Linked DNA regions of Homo sapiens: region 1 is linked to region 2. The links are contacts of gene promoters, found by promoter capture Hi-C in human tissues and cell types (Jung and others, 2019). All regions are on one chromosome and are shown on one strand. Each heading gives the region's core, a stretch centred on a gene start or on the middle of the fragment in contact. The rest is flanking DNA. Distances are from core to core; before and after follow the strand shown. Region 1 overlaps CHMP7 (charged multivesicular body protein 7). Region 2 holds the start of SLC25A37 (solute carrier family 25 member 37).

Region 1 (2,734 bases), core at 145-2,644, 280 kb before region 2:
GAAGGGAACAGTGCCATGGGCCCTGGGACCCTGGGAGCAGTGCCTGATACCTGGTAGACAGTCAATAAATACCTGTTGAGTGAGTGAATACACACGCACAGACACGTGTACACATCACTCCATTTTTTTCTAGAAATGGAATTGGTGTGCACCCTGCTTTGTTTTCTTTCCATTGCATTGTATCAGGTGCCTCTTTCCAGGCCCTACACAGTATGGATTTACTCGATTCTTTTTGATGCCTGCATGATAATCTATCGATATGCCACAATTTATGCAACAGGTGCTCCGCAGATGGACATTTCAATCATTCCAATTTCTCTCTCCATTTTTCCATTACAAAAAAATGCCACTTGTGCAGAGATCTATGTACTTCTCCCTTTATTTTTATGGAATTGATTTTTCGGAAATGCATATGTGCCTTTTCAATTTTAACAAAAATTGCCAAACTACTTTTCAAAAGTTTGTAATAAGTTGCACTTTCATCAAGACTGTATTAGGGAGTCCAGTCTCCCCACATCCTTGTCAGCACGGGATGACATCAGTCTTTTAAATCTTACCAACTTATTGGGAAAAAAAAAATGATACGTCCTGTTTGTGAATTGAGCATTTTTTTCACCTATGTACTAGCCATTTACATATCTCCTTCTGTGAATTGTCTGTTTATATCCTTTCCTGTTTTGTATTGTGTTATCTTTTTTTTTTTTTTGAGATGGAGTTTGTCACCCAGGCTGGAGTGCAGTGGCACGATCTCCGCTCACTGCAAGCTCCGCCTTTCGGGTTCACGCCATTCTCCTGCTTCAGCCTTCCGAGCAGTTGGGACTACAGGTGCCGCCACCACGCCCGGCTAATTTTTTGTATTTTTAGTAGAGATTGGGTTTCACCATGTTAGCCAGGATGGTCTCGATCTCCTGACCTCGTGATCCACCCGCCTTGGCCTCCCAAAGTGCTGGGATTACAGGTGTGAGCCACCGCGCCTGGCCTTATTGTGTTATCTTTTATGTTAATCTGTATTCTTTATGTGTTAGAGATAGATATATATAATGTATTTAGTATTAAGGATGTAAATATTGTTTCTCAGTCTGTTGCTTGCTTACTTTTTATTTATGATGTCTTTTACCCTATAGAAGGTTTCATATTTCTGTAGTCAGATCTCTCAGACTTTTCTGTATGGCTATTGAATTTCAGGTCTTGTTTAGGAAGGCATCTTCTGACTCAAGCTTAACTTATTACTTTGTACTTTAATTTTTTCCGTTTACATTTCCTTCAATACTTATTTTTGTGTATGTGGTGGGGAAAGCTCTATTTTCTTCCAAATGGATAGCCAGTTGTCTCAGTATCTTTTCTTGATGTCGTGTAACATTAATTTATTTGTGTGTGGTTACTGTGCAGTTACTGCAGTGGTTGCATATCTGGTAGGGCAGTCAAATCAATGAAAACTCGATGTCTGTGTCTTATTAGGCTCTTTTCTACCCTTTGGCACTGTTGACGAGTCACTTCTTGAAATGTCCAATTTCCTTGAATTTGTTTACATGACGCTGCAAGTTCTCCTTGATTCCCCCAAAGCAGTCCTTCTGTCTCTCTTTTGTGGCTTCCTTCACTTCCTAAACAGTGGTCTTCCTTCAGCTTATTACTTTCCTCCCTGAATGTCCTTGGGATCTTTGCTGTGGATATGCTGAGGACTTTCAACATTGTATCGCTGTCCTGCTGTCTCCTTTGAGTTTCAGATTTGTATATCCACTGATAGGTTGTATACATAATCTTGGATATAGCTCAGACATCTTATTTATGTATTTATTTATAGACAGAGTCTCACTCTGTTGCCCAGGCTGTAGTGCAGTGGCACAATGTTGGCTCAGTGCAACCTCCGCCTCCTGGGTTCAAGCAATTCTCCTGCCTCAGCCTCTCAAGTAGCTGGGATCACAGGCGCTGCCACCATGGCCAGCTAATTTTTTGTATTTTTTTTAGTGGAGATGGGGTTTCACCCTGTTGGCCAGGCTGGTCTCAAACTCCTGATCTCAGGTGATCCACCCACCTCGGCCTCATAAAGTGCTGGGATTAGAGGCGTGAGGCACACCGTGCCTGGCTTCTCTCAGACATCTTAAAACATCATAACCAAGATGGGATATTTTGTCTTTACTTTAAACTAGGCTTTTCCTCCTGAATTTTTTCCTATTAATAGCATCACATCCACCAGTCACTCAATCCATAGTGACTTTCCACTAGACTTTTTCTTCCAACCCTATATCCAGTTACCAGTGTTATCTTCTGAATTTTGTTTGTCTCCACCACTCCTCTTTCTATGTTTATTATTCAAATAGCCTGTTGTTCAGACCCACATAATCTCTTGTGTAAATGGTCTCCTTGCCTCTAATCTTAACTCTACAATCCATCGTCTCCCAATTGGCAGTTAGCTTTCTGTTAATCTAGCCATGTCAGTTTCCTTCAGTGACCACCCACCATCTACAGAATAAAGGATCATCATAAGATATTACACTTTCTATAATATAGGATATTACACTTTCTATAATATAGGAGTGCTTCTCCTCTCTCTCCTTTCCCCTCTACATTTGTACACGTGCCGCATTGACCCACCCTTCTATGCTCATGTTCCTCTCTCTTCCCGAGATACCCGTTTCACCTCTTCACCTAGGAACTTGCTCACTCTTCAGAATTCTGCTCAACTTTTTTTTTTTTTCAAGAAATCCTGAATCCCCAGGCAGTCCTTCCCTATATT
Region 2 (2,739 bases), core at 240-2,739:
GGTTGACCATTTAGGTTGTTTCCAATGATTTACTGCTCTAAGGAATGCTTTGAAGAAGAGCTTCCTGTGTATTTGGGTTTTTGTTACATTCCCAGAAGTGGGGCAGTGGGTTCTTACAGACTTAATGCTTAAAGGGCATCCACTTAAAAATAAGGATCAACAGCTTCTGATCAGTATTTCTTAAAAACGACCTTTGACAAAAGTAGAGTTTTCTCTAGCCATTACAGAGATGGCTAAGTAAAAACACAGAGCCTGTTTTTACTTATCACATCCTTAGCACTCAGCTTGCCAGCTACTATCTGCAGCTACCAAAACTAGGCAAACAGTGCTCTTGGTCCTGACGCCTCTATTGACCTCTACCCATGCTCACATTACTGTATCTCAAATCCCTAAGAGCTGCTTGGGATGCTGATCACGGTGAGGGCAGAGAGTAGGCTCAGCCTCTTCAGGGTCTTCCCCACCCTTTCATATCTCAGGATCCAGCTTTCCTGACGAGAAGCCTTGTCTAGATAAGGCAGGGAGGCCCTGGTGCCTACAAGTTGATCAGCCCAAGTCATCTTAAGCCCTGGAACACGCAATTTAGACGGACACTTCCAGAGGCAGACAGGTCCCTCCCCTACTTTCTGATTTCTCCCTTTTTCCCCAGACTGGAGCAAAACAATATTAAAACAGCCTGGGTTACACTTTATTGAAGAGGCCAGCTTAGGACGACTTTAAGAACTAGGTGACCACAGTCTTAAGACAGGCAGGGGCAAGGCTGTAAGATTTTACTCTCAGCCAGTTCACACTCCTAACTGTGAGATCAGGCCTCTACAGACCTTATGGGCCTATCAAACCCAAAGAAAATTTCCTGGAGGTGCCTACTCAGAGGGGCTCCCTCCTGGTCACTCCTTATAGCCTTGCTCGGTCCAGGGCAGGGTGGGTTCGGTCTCTCGGTGAGAACAAGAGGAACACATTTAGCTCTGCATTATGTATTTAGGTTGAGAGAAACAATTTCGAATGAATGGGGGTCTCTCCAACAAAGCAGTCTAGAACGGGCCCCTGAGGTTTGAATTCAGGCCTTAGGAATGCCAAAGCTCACTGAGCGATTCTGTTTGCAAACCCACCCGCCACGGGGACGGATTTTCCCCGAGACACTGTCACCCATGCCTCCAGCTCTGGGCATACCCCACTGCGGCCCCTCCCCAATGACCTCCCCTGCCCCTCGCGGACCAGCCCATCCTCAAGATAGTACAACTTTCCGGGCCACCCCACGTCTCCTCTCGCCCCCGTCCGGTTGCTTGGAAATGTGCACGGGACGGTGACGTCACACAGGGAGGCGGGTCCCCACTGTCCCGCACACCAATGGCGCGGCGGCCGCCGGCCTCTTGGTTCCCGGCGATTGGTGTCTCTGGCCGCTGCGCTCCACCCCAGCCCGCCATGGCGTCAGGCGCCGCGGCCCCGGGGAGGTGGCTCCCACTTTAAGAAGTGAAGTTTTGCGCCCCTCCCCCTCCCTGCCCACCTCCTGCAGCCTCCTGCGCCCCGCCGAGCTGGCGGATGGAGCTGCGCAGCGGGAGCGTGGGCAGCCAGGCGGTGGCGCGGAGGATGGATGGGGACAGCCGAGATGGCGGCGGCGGCAAGGACGCCACCGGGTCGGAGGACTACGAGAACCTGCCGACTAGCGCCTCCGTGTCCACCCACATGACAGCAGGAGCGATGGCCGGGATCCTGGAGCACTCGGTCATGTACCCGGTGGACTCGGTGAAGGTGAGGCGCGGGGAGACTTCGGGGACGCAACGAGCGGAGAAGGAGCGCGCGCGCGCATTTGCATCCCGCGCGCCGGCAGCCTCGGGGCAGCGTCCCGAAACCGAGCTCTCCCCAGGACCGCGGCTGGCCGGGGTCGCCCCAGGAGCAGCTGCGCGCAGCCTGGGCGCCGCGCCTTCCGCCGACCCCGCGAGGGTGCCCGGTCCTCGCCCCGCACCGCCCGCTGCTCCAGCCGCGTGCCCGGCCCCGGCTGCTGGCGGCGCTGAGGCGGGGGAGGCGGAGTGGCGAGCACCGCTGGCTTCGGCGGCGACTGGGCTCCCGGGGGACGCGATCGCTGAAGCTCTGCACAGTCTTACCACGCTGGCCGTTCGGGCTGGCTGGGGCCGCCCACACGTGCGCGGTTTCCGAGGGAGCTCCCCGCAGGGGAAGCCCTCACCACGCTGGAGCTGAGAAACGTGTGGCCCTGGCCCGGCCGCGCGCCCTCGGGACTTGGTGTGTGGCTGCTGCTCCCCGGGTTATTTCGGGAACTTGGGGCCGGCAAGTCTTCTCTCGACTAGTGGCAGCTCTTTACCGGTTCGACAGCGGCCCGTGGGATCCCCTTTCTGAGGGTTCCTGCACTTCTTCCCCCGACTTTGGGTCGCCGAGCCGCCGGGAGGCAATGACGTTTGCCTTCTCCTTTTGCTTGCGGGGAGGTGGGTGGGCTTGTGCCTTACAGCCCTTGCTGTGGATTGTGTGAGAGGCACTCAGTTTCCTTTAAACCCTGTCTGTCACTTGCCCCGGTAGTTTTAACTGCATTTCTGTAAAGAGGCAGCGTTACTAGGTGCGTTTTGCCTGGTAGACTGAGACCTGCCCTCTGTCAGCCTGCCCAGAACACCCCAGGGCCAGGATAGAGTAGTGCAGGAAGTAATGCCAGTATTGACTGTTACACGTTGCACTTTTATAGGCATAACTCGCCTAATTCATGCAACAGCCCTGGGGGTTAACAGATGAAGAAAC

The links. Contacts are between HindIII fragments. The study calls those that stand out against the background at their distance.
Region 1: a fragment that was not itself captured here is called in contact with the fragment with the promoter of SLC25A37 in region 2 in 1 of the 25 tissues and cell types used here (aorta).

What each region holds. Positions count from the first base shown.
Region 1 is chr8:23,251,504-23,254,237 of GRCh38, forward strand. The region is part of intron 3 of CHMP7 (charged multivesicular body protein 7); the gene reads left to right. Among named protein-coding and RNA genes, the nearest start is that of CHMP7, 9.2 kb to the left of the region's middle. The HindIII fragment of the contact is 4,740 bases long and covers 1-2,734 here.
Region 2 is chr8:23,527,467-23,530,205 of GRCh38, forward strand. It overlaps SLC25A37 (solute carrier family 25 member 37), which reads left to right and starts at 1,490. Exons shown (of 4, transcript NM_016612.4): 1 at 1,490-1,746. The coding sequence starts at 1,537. RefSeq lists enhancers at 1,184-1,233, 2,524-2,593 and silencers at 1,364-1,723, 1,774-2,023. The HindIII fragment of the contact is 14,130 bases long and covers 1-2,739 here.